Linked DNA regions of Homo sapiens: regions 1 and 2 are each linked to region 3. The links are contacts of gene promoters, found by promoter capture Hi-C in blood cells and fetal thymus (Javierre and others, 2016). All regions are on one chromosome and are shown on one strand. Each heading gives the region's core, a stretch centred on a gene start or on the middle of the fragment in contact. The rest is flanking DNA. Distances are from core to core; before and after follow the strand shown.

Evidence for each region. Contacts are between HindIII fragments. The CHiCAGO score rates a contact against its expected background, and 5 or more counts as called.
Region 1: a contact is called between a fragment that was not itself captured here and the fragment with the promoter of PRDM1 in region 3, in 3 of 17 cell types (activated CD4 T cells, non-activated CD4 T cells and M0 macrophages). The highest score is 6.1, in activated CD4 T cells.
Region 2: a contact is called between a fragment that was not itself captured here and the fragment with the promoter of PRDM1 in region 3, in 14 of 17 cell types (M2 macrophages, activated CD4 T cells, monocytes and 11 more). The highest score is 18.5, in M2 macrophages.

Annotation. Positions count from the first base shown.
Region 1 is chr6:106,444,090-106,447,305 of GRCh38, forward strand. All of the region lies in intron 1 of CRYBG1 (crystallin beta-gamma domain containing 1), which reads left to right. Among named protein-coding and RNA genes, the nearest start is that of CRYBG1, 85 kb to the left of the region's middle. The HindIII fragment of the contact is 2,737 bases long and covers 1-2,701 here.
Region 2 is chr6:105,750,169-105,753,396 of GRCh38, forward strand. No RefSeq gene overlaps it. Among named protein-coding and RNA genes, the nearest start is that of LINC02836, 120 kb to the left of the region's middle. The HindIII fragment of the contact is 3,770 bases long and covers 1-3,228 here.
Region 3 is chr6:106,084,593-106,087,900 of GRCh38, forward strand. PRDM1 (PR/SET domain 1) reads left to right here and starts at 1,744. Exons shown (of 7, transcript NM_001198.4): 1 at 1,744-2,003. The coding sequence starts at 1,962. RefSeq lists enhancers at 125-194, 1,372-2,091. The HindIII fragment of the contact is 5,820 bases long and covers 1-3,308 here.

The DNA.
Region 1 (3,216 bases), core at 83-2,582, 360 kb after region 3:
ATACCCTCTTTTGCATTATTAATTTGTTATTCATGAGCTTAGTAAGATCATTAGTCTTTCTTTGGGGAGTATTGACACTGTCAAAATAAAAGCTACATTTTCTCTTCTCTGCCATTAGATGATAAGAATTTGAATTGCCTTAAAAGGAAAATTCCAGCAATCAAAAAAATCTTCTTTTGTATTTCGACAACTGAAAACAAAACTTGTCCAACTTGACTCTTATAAAGAGAAGCTGAAAAAAATGCCATGACCTTCAGCTTCTCTAAATCAGAGCATGTGCAATCACGCGTGAAACACAATACTCTTGATAAAACCGAGCCGTTCCTTGAGGCACAGACCTCGGTTCCTCAGTTCTCCTGGGGATTTGCACAATTCTCCTGGTTGTTTGGTCCTCGGCCTTGGCTTCTCTTTGCTTGTGCCCAGAATGAAATCATTTCTTCCTCTGGGACCAATGCTAATAAAGCCAAACCTTGTGGAACCTAGCCTGGTTCTGGGCGAGTTTCATGGTTCGTTAATCATGTGGAGTGATCCGAAATCATCAAAATCAACATACTAGTGGTCCTGAGATATTTTGCTTAACTTTCACAGACTCGGTAGCACCCAAAGCCTCGATTTCACAAGATAGAAGTATTAAGGCAAACATTTCCAGCCTTTGTTGGAGAGATGATTTGCATTCCACTGGTCAGGTGTGAGGGGGAACTTAAACATTTCTGCACCACACAGCATATTGGGAGATGGCTCCCAGCCTTCAGGCTGCCATTTTGAAAGACTTGGTGGCTCACACCTGTAATCCTGGCACTTTGGGAGGCTGAGGCAAGACAATCATTTGAGACCAGGAGTTCAAAACCAGCTTAGGCAACATAGTGAGACCCCGTCTTTACAAAAACCAACAAAACAAACAAACAAACAGACAAACAAAAACCATCAAAGTGCCCAGGAAGGTGAATGCAATCAGGAAGTAGAGGCTGACTGGACAAAAAAGGATGAGTAGAGGAGTGATATTCTTGTGCAACCACTAGATGGCAGAGTTTCTGCATTCTATTACCATTGGCAACAAGAAATACTTGGGTTAGTGGTGTAGCATCCTTTACATACCTGTAACTTTGAGGATGCTTTGTATTTTAAAAACTCGAATGAGCATAGCAAATTATTTTCATTTCCCCATCCAACTTGGAATTTTGTGATCGTGAAACTCATCTACTGAGAATTTAAAATTAGTCTCTGAGTGAGGAGTTGGGTGGGTTCTCTACTCCTAACTCTGTCATTAGCCGTGTGACTTTGAACAATGAATATCTCTGGGCCTCAATGAACTCATCTGAAAAATGGTATGGTTGGGTCACTAGATTATCTCTAAGGGATCTTCCAACCCAGACATTCTCCTTTCATATCTGAGCCTGATAAATATGCTAGCTCAAAGTACCATCTATATAATTCCTTATAAATTATTATTCAGGACATGTCAACTGACATTCATATGCATAATTACAATAGCTGATACTTATTGAGAACCTACTATATGGCAGTACTAGGCTAAGCATTTTACAAGTTTTACCTAATTTAATTCTCTTAACAATTTATCACTCCCATTTTGCAGATGAAGAAACTGAGGCTTAAAGAAGTAACTAGCTCAAGATCATATAGCTAATGGCCAGGCTGGTATGACTCTGAAATCTGTGTGTATACATTGCTATATTTGATCCTTTATTCAGCTGAGAAAAAATACAAATTTGAAGACAACACTGCTTCTGAAGGAAAAACCCATTCTGTAAATCCAAAATTCTAGGTTTTCCAAGGGAAATAGATTGTGGGGTTTTGTTTTATTTCTGGAGATGGGAGAGATTTACATGGCTCTATCCTCACACTGTCATTAGATGCCTCTTTGTGAGCCTGGGCTTCCAGTACCATGTACATGGGTAACCAGCAGGCACAACACTGTCAGTCAGTCACATGGTTTCTGAGGAACAATGTCTCTTCAAATCTGCAATAAAGTGACTGAACCAGGTAATCACCAGGGACTTTTTCAGGTCTAGCATTATCTGATGGTATGTGTCCGTAATCTAATACAGGGTCTAATGTTAGCAGGAAAGAGGTTGCTCAGTAAATGGTTGCTCTCTACCATTTAGCAGTTGCAGTAAAGAAACACCATGCACACTATTAGTGCCATTTGTTAGTGAATTAAGTTTTCTCCTTCCTTTGTGGCCAGAAAACTTATGCATGTTACAACCAATGCCTTAATTCAGAAGAGTGGTTCTAGTATCTGGTGTCTTAGGTTCCCTTGAGGAAATAATTCAATTCAATGCAGGTGGAAGCACTTTTTGGTAACTTTGAAATCACAACTCTGAGGCTCAGTTGAACACAGTAATAATTCTTTGGATAGACAATAGATGGCAGTACAGCATCAATTTATAACTTATAAACTATAGTTAAACCTAAACTTTTATGCTACATTTTATTATTTTGGATGTACATTACTATAAAACAAGAATTATTAAAAAACTTATTTAACTTGCCTTATATTAGGCTACACATATTTAAATGCTTAAGGAACAACTTGGTGGTGTAGACCAACATTAGGAAAACTCGAACTAGATTTATCAGGGCCACTTTCAAGGGCTTTGGAGAGGCCCTAGCACTGTCAATCTTGAGAAAGTAAGAGATTCTCTTTTCTTTTTATTAAAGAGGCCCGCCCCCTTCTTATATAAGCTTTAGGTCTCACAATTCTGGGATTTGTCTGAGAATAGCCATGCGGCTCTTTTAACTTGGGAAAGGGAAAACAGTCTTGCCGTTATTAATTTTGCTACCAACTTAATCTCCAGGGAGAGGGGCAATCTGGTTTTTTAAAGTAAGCCAAATAAAAAGGAAACATAATTGAATGAATTGGCAAATGTTCCACTTACTTCTAAGTCTGAGTAAAATCAAGTACCATACTTAACACTGAAACTTTCACTCTGGCAGTATAACATCTGTGCTAAAAAGAAAAGGGAGGTACAAAGGAGTATAATTAGCAAGTTAATAAATTATCCTCTGCTAAGACTGCAGACCAATATGATAGCATTTGGCGGTTGTTTTATGTTATTTACCCAAGAGGTTATTGTCGTTAATAAATGACCAGTTGTGACTATTCACAAAGGAAACTGTGCTTCCATTGGCACATAAATTTCTCATCAGGGAGCCAAGCTTAGCCTCTGTTATGACCACCTACACCCTACTCATCAG
Region 2 (3,228 bases), core at 457-2,956, 330 kb before region 3:
GAACTGGAGCTGGCCAGGCCACCACTAATGTTGCCACTCAGGGTCCCACAGAGGCACCGTGCAAAACCGCTCCTGCACACTTCAACTGGTCATTCTTGCCCACTGAGTCAGGACTACCCAGCCCAGGGGAGGAACCTGCTCTGGTCTTCAAAGCTGAGCTCTTTGTTTTACTGTCACATGGTGTCTCCCAGTGACAGGGAGGCTGCAAGAGCACGAGTCCCTGGGGCTGCTATAACAAAGAGCTGCAAACTGTGGGGCTTAAACAACAAACATTTATCATCTCATGGTTCTGGACTTTGGTTGGAAGTCCAAAATGAAGGCATCAGCAGGATTGATTCTTTCTGCAGGCTGTGAGGAAAGATCCAGCCCATGCTTCCCTTCTGATTTCTGGAGGCTTCCGGTGTTCCTTGGCTTTAGGTGGCCTTTTCCCTGTGTCTTCACATCATATTCCCTATGCGTCTGTCTCCAAATTTCCCCTTCTTACAAGGACACAGGTCATACTGGATTACAACCCACCCTAATAACCTCATTTTAATTGGATCACCTCTGTAAAGATAATATTTCCAATAAGGTCATGTTCACAGGTACCATGCGTTAGGACTTACACATCTTTGGGGGGGACACCAAAACACTGTTGATGTTTAACCATGTCACTGCAGTTTTCAGATGCAAAATGATGAGAGTGTCACATATGCCTTCTGTTGCAATTACTTAGCCTGCCCATTGTGGACAATCCATAAACAAATGGGTGTGGCGGTGTTCCAACAAAACTTTACTTATGAATATTGACACTTGAATTTTATATTATTTCACTTGTGATGAAATATTCTTTTGGTTTTTCTAAACCATGTAAAACTATCGAAACCATTCTTAGCTTGCACACTGTATAAAATGATCAAAGGGCTTGATTGGGTCCTAGAACTGCAGTTTGCCAATTCCTGTAAGAAAGGATTCTTTAACTGAGAAAAAAATTGATCCTCATCAGATTTCTCCCATTTAACTGAGATAATTTCTTTATATTAGTTTCCAGCAACCCCACCTCCCTGCAATAATTTATAAATGTTCTCTTATTCATATGGTGCATGTACTTTACTCCTAAATCGAGTTTGTGCTCTGTAAATAACTTCTCACAAGAAGCTCAGGAAAGAGCTTGAATGTAGGAAGGCAAGACACCTTACTTCTTTATTCTACAGTATCTCCCGACATCCAAAGCAATGTTTGTTGTAGCAAACATTGTGTATGCAAATTGAATCCTTTTTTAATTTTTGATTTTTGCAAGTACATAGTAGGTGTATGTATTTATGGGGTATATGGGATATTTTGATACAGGCATACAATGTGTAATAATCACTTTGGGGTAAATGAGGTATCCATCACCTTAAGCATTTATCCTTTGTGTCACAAACAATCCAATTATACTCTTAGTTATTTTTAAATGTACAATTAAATTATTACTGACTATAGTCACCCTATTGTGCTATCAATTACTAGATCTTATTCATTCTTTTAAACCATTTTTTTGTATCCACTAACCATCCCCGCTTCCCTGCCACCCCTCCCCACTATCCTCTGGTAACCATCCTTCTATTCTTTATCTCCATGATTTCAACAGTTTTAATTTTTAGCTCCTACAAATAAGTATATGCAAAGTTTGTCTTTCTGTGCTTGGATTATTTCACTTAACATAATGATTTCCAGCTCCATCCATGTTGTTGCAAATGACAGAATCTCATTCCTTTTTATGGTTGAGTAGTACTCCATTGTGTGTCTGCACCACACTTCCTTTATCCATTTGTCTGTTGATGGACACTTGAGTTGTTTCTAAATCTTGGCTATTAGCTGGGTGCGGTGGCTCACGCCTGTAATCCCAGCACTTTGGGAGGCCGAGGTGCGTGGATCACGAGGTCAACAGATCGCGACCATCCTGGCCAACATGGTGAAACCCTGTCTCTACTAAAAATACAAAAATTAGCTGGGCATGGTGGTGCGCGCCTGTACTCCCAGCTACTCAGGAGGCTGAGGCAGGAGAATTGCTTGAATCCGGGGAGGTGGAGGTTACAGTGAGCTGCATTTCAGGTTGGGCAACTGGTGTAACAGAGGTTACACCACTGCATTCTAGCCTGGGCAACAGAGCGAGACTCCATCTCAAAAATAAATAAATAAATAAATAAATAAATCTTGACTATTGTGAACAGTGCTGCAATAAACATGGGAACAAATCAAATATTTAAACACCCTCATATGGGGTCTTCTCAAACTGTACCCATCATTCTGGCCTAATTCCAGCCTGCCATCCTCCATGAAGCCTCCTCCAGCTATTCCAGCTCATCCTGACATTGGCTTCTCTTTTCCTGTTGAATTCATAATCCATGACATGTAACTGACCACTTAACCCTTGATGAATTCTCACATTAGTTTTGACTTTTCAGCTACAAAACCAAAACCACTCCAAGAAAGGAACTGGTGACATCCTTTTATTGTTGTGTTTTCTCTCCTTTGAAAACTAGTTAACTCTTACATTACAGTAGGCACACTCCAAGGCTGTTTCCCGACGCACAGGCCAGGCTGCTCCCTGGAACTCCTTTAGGGGTTAGGCTGGGCCCATCCACCTACCTCTCTGACCCGAGCCTTTTGCCAAGGCCTAAGCACACTGAAGCAGCAGTGGCTGCCATCCATGTAGGCGCTGAAATTCTAGAGCTCAAAGAAGGGAACTGGTGCCTAACACTCTAGCCATGGCTGGACACCAGGAATCAGTACCTGCTTCAAAACTGACAAATTACAGAATAATTAATTACTAACAGATATTCTTAAGCACAAAGTTTTAGTGCACATTGACCATTTCCTAACTTGAACCCTCTCTAAATAGATGAATTTCTCAAGTAAAGGTAAGCAAGGTCAGTGCTTCTGTTGCACTTTGGTCTCCTCTCTTGGCATTTTCTTTTCTTACATGATATTGTAGTAAGTAGTATAAAAACTTGAAAATGAAAAGCCTGATTCTTGATGCATAATAGGAGCCCCACAACAATAACCAATATTTGGAAGTTTGTCAAAGGCAGGTATGAAGCACAAGATGAAACGTTTTCATTTCGGATGACTTATAGTAAGATACCAATAAAATACTCCGAGATGTGGTAAGAATAGGCGATATCACCACACCTTGGGCGGGTGAAGCCACTTGGCACAGGCACCCTACCTCACCACACCCCTGAGGCATGGCAGAACACAAGA
Region 3 (3,308 bases), core at 494-2,993:
TTTAACATCTGCAAGTGAGACTGTTTGAACAGCAGGCCAGCCTTCAGTATGACTACATTGTTTTTCTGTCCATTGTGGTGCTGACTCAGCATCAGTTAATAAACCCTCTTGAGCAGGCTGGATTTCTCTTGTTTAATTATCAGCTTGGAGCTTTCTGAGGACTCTTAGGAATTGTTCATTCAGTTTTCCACCCCCAGCAGATCTGCCTTCTAAAAGTCCTGCTTCCTCTTGGTGCTAGCGTCCCCTCTGGCATAACATGCAATCACAGGTGGGCCACGCAGCAAGCAGCGAGTGTGTGCTAATCATGTCCCCTAGTGGGAATTTAATTGTTCTGTACTGAGAGAGAGATTGCAGCAAGACTTTAGACACCATTTCCTGGCAAATAATCTTTTGCCTCTCCCCCTCTCCCCTAAAAAAAATTCTAGAAAAGTTTTCTAAAAGTGAGAAAAGAAATTTTAAAGATAAACAGACATATTTTTTAGGATTGAGTTGGGCTTTTGTTTTGCTTTGTTTCATTTCTTCCTGTAAACAAATACTCAGATGTCCATTTCATTGTATGACTAAGTTGGTATCATTAGGTTGGAACTGGGTGTGTGTATGTGGGTGTGTGTGTGGGTGGATGTGTGTGCACACGTGTATTTAAAATGTTAGAAAAGACATTGCAGGTCGAAGGAGAAATGATTTTAAAAAAACCTACCTATGGTAAGGCAAGCAGGAAAAATGGAAGACCTGGATTTCAATGATCTAAATAATAATTGAAATGGGGTGTTTGCTATAAACATTGTTTCTCTGAATTAAAGGATTCCTTGCTGAAGGCACAAGACCATTGAAGGAAGTAAAGCATCTGGTTTGTTTTGTAATGAGAAGCAGGAATGCAAGGTCCACGCTCTTAATAATAAACAAACAGGACATTGTATGCCATCATCACAGGATGTCCTTCCTTCAACAGAGGACTGACTGGGCTGGAGGAAAAGCTGGCCGGGGCTCAGAATAAGCCCCACTAATTACTGCCTCCGACCGCTTTCCACTTGCAGTGATCAGTTCAATATTCCTCTGAACTGTGAAACGACTAATGCTCTACATTTTACTTACACTCCTGGGAAGTCAGCCTGTGGGTTCTGGGAGGAGAGGAAAGGAAAACAAACAATCTGTAGAATTATAACTTTTGCCTATTTCCCTATTTACTAAATAGTTAAAAGAGGAAAGTTAGTTCTGCCAAGTTTGAACGTTAGCAGGAGAAACGGAATGTTACAACTTTTGGGGCGGGGGGCGGGGAAACGTGCGTTACATACACAACAGCTTGAGGACCAGACAGCTCCACTGTATTACACTAGCTGCAAAAACAATTTAACTTGCTCTTTTGAAGTAAGATTTGTGTCTTTTGTACCTGGGGATTTGAGCTGAGAAATCAGAAACTGTGTAGGTAAATTTTAAGTTTCCTTAATTTAAGGAACGTGCGCCCCCTAATTCTGCCGCGCCAGGAAGGAGGGCGATCTGGAGTGTTTAGAATACAATAGAGCCCAAGTAAGCGTTGAGGTTAAGTGCCTTCAAAGGGAAGTAAGAAGATTCCAAGTCAATGTTGAAATACACATGCGAAGAGAGGAAGCTCTCGGCGGCTGTGCTAGCAATCTGGGGGAAAGCCCTGGGCTCGGCCAGGTGGTGTTGGCCACGTTGGCCACGCCCCCACTTCGCGCAGCCGAGTGGCTAAGGAAATCTTAAGCAGGGAGGGGAAGCCAGACGGTTAACACAGACAAAGTGCTGCCGTGACACTCGGCCCTCCAGTGTTGCGGAGAGGCAAGAGCAGCGACCGCGGCACCTGTCCGCCCGGAGCTGGGACGCGGGCGCCCGGGCGGCCGGACGAAGCGAGGAGGGACCGCCGAGGTGCGCGTCTGTGCGGCTCAGCCTGGCGGGGGACGCGGGGAGAATGTGGACTGGGTAGAGATGAACGAGACTTTTCTCAGATGTTGGATATTTGCTTGGAAAAACGTGTGGGTACGACCTTGGTAAGGAACTTGAATTTTTTTTTTTTAATTCTGAAATTGATCTGAAAACTTTATTTTCTTTTCCTTTATTGTTATTATTATTAATTTTTTTTGGCTAATGTCGCAGTAGAAACATGCTTCTGCTTTAGTGCACTTAGTGCTGTCAAACATTTGTGAGACTTTCCTTATGAATCATTAACCCTTTCAGTTCTAGACATAATTGCCAATTCATTGAAATTTCAGTAGTGGTTCCAGCTCACACTCGTCAAACTATTCCGGGTTGGCTGAAGTTTTCTATTTTATTTTATTTTTAACATGTGTTTGGCGTCATGACTCTACATGTTGGAACTAAATAAAAATAAGCAGGTTTGCTTAAATCATAACTGAGGGAAAAACAACTTTGCATCCAACTTTTTTTTTTTTAAGAGCATCCTATTTAGAGAAGTGGAAGAATGTAAAAACCTCCTTGAAGGACTTCCACAGAATGTTATGTTTACATTTGAACAAACACACATTCTTACATGGAAATGATACCCATATTCCTCATTTTTATCAAACATGTCTATATGAGAAAACCCTTACAGAAGTTGTTTACCTTTTTTTGCCTTTGGAAAACAGTTTTTTTCTGAGTGTGAGGGAGGATTTTGGGGGAATATCCTCATCAATGTACAAGTGGAAGCAGAGCTTGTCCTCCAAGTCTTCTAAATTTGTTATAACTTTAGTTACAGTAAACTGTAGTACATCAGTGACTTCTGGGAATTCATACACTTTCAGATTTAAATGGAAAGTGCTATTTGTAGCTGAGGACTCCTAAAGGAATTCTCTCCAGGGAATTTTATTAAACGGTTTTATGTTTTGTTTTTGCCTTTTCAATTTGGTATGAGATGCTTGCAAGTCAGAAGACACTGCAGGCTGTTTTCCCCTTCACCCATTTTTCCTCCTCTTTTCCTGTGGTCCAAGTGATTTCTAAGAGGCCGTAGCTCAGTGATGCTGGCAGGATGCAACCCTTTTCAGTCTTCCATGTGAGAGGATGAAAGAGAGCTCGCAGCAGAGGGAGGAGGCAGTTGTTTTGAAAGTTGTTTTGCGTTGGGAGCTGGTGGGAAAGTTCGGTCTTCCCCATTTGGAAAAGGCAGGCTGGGTTCCGCTCCTGCACCACACGCGCTTTCCATTTTTAGCTTCATTCAGAGGCAGACAGAGCTCCTTCCTCTTCCTCTCCTTGTTTGTGACACTTTTCTGAGGCAGCTTTTCCACAGTGCCGAGGGTCTGGCGGCCATGACCCCAGGCATTCTGGGACACTGGACTGTGTGCCCAGAACATTTTTCTGCC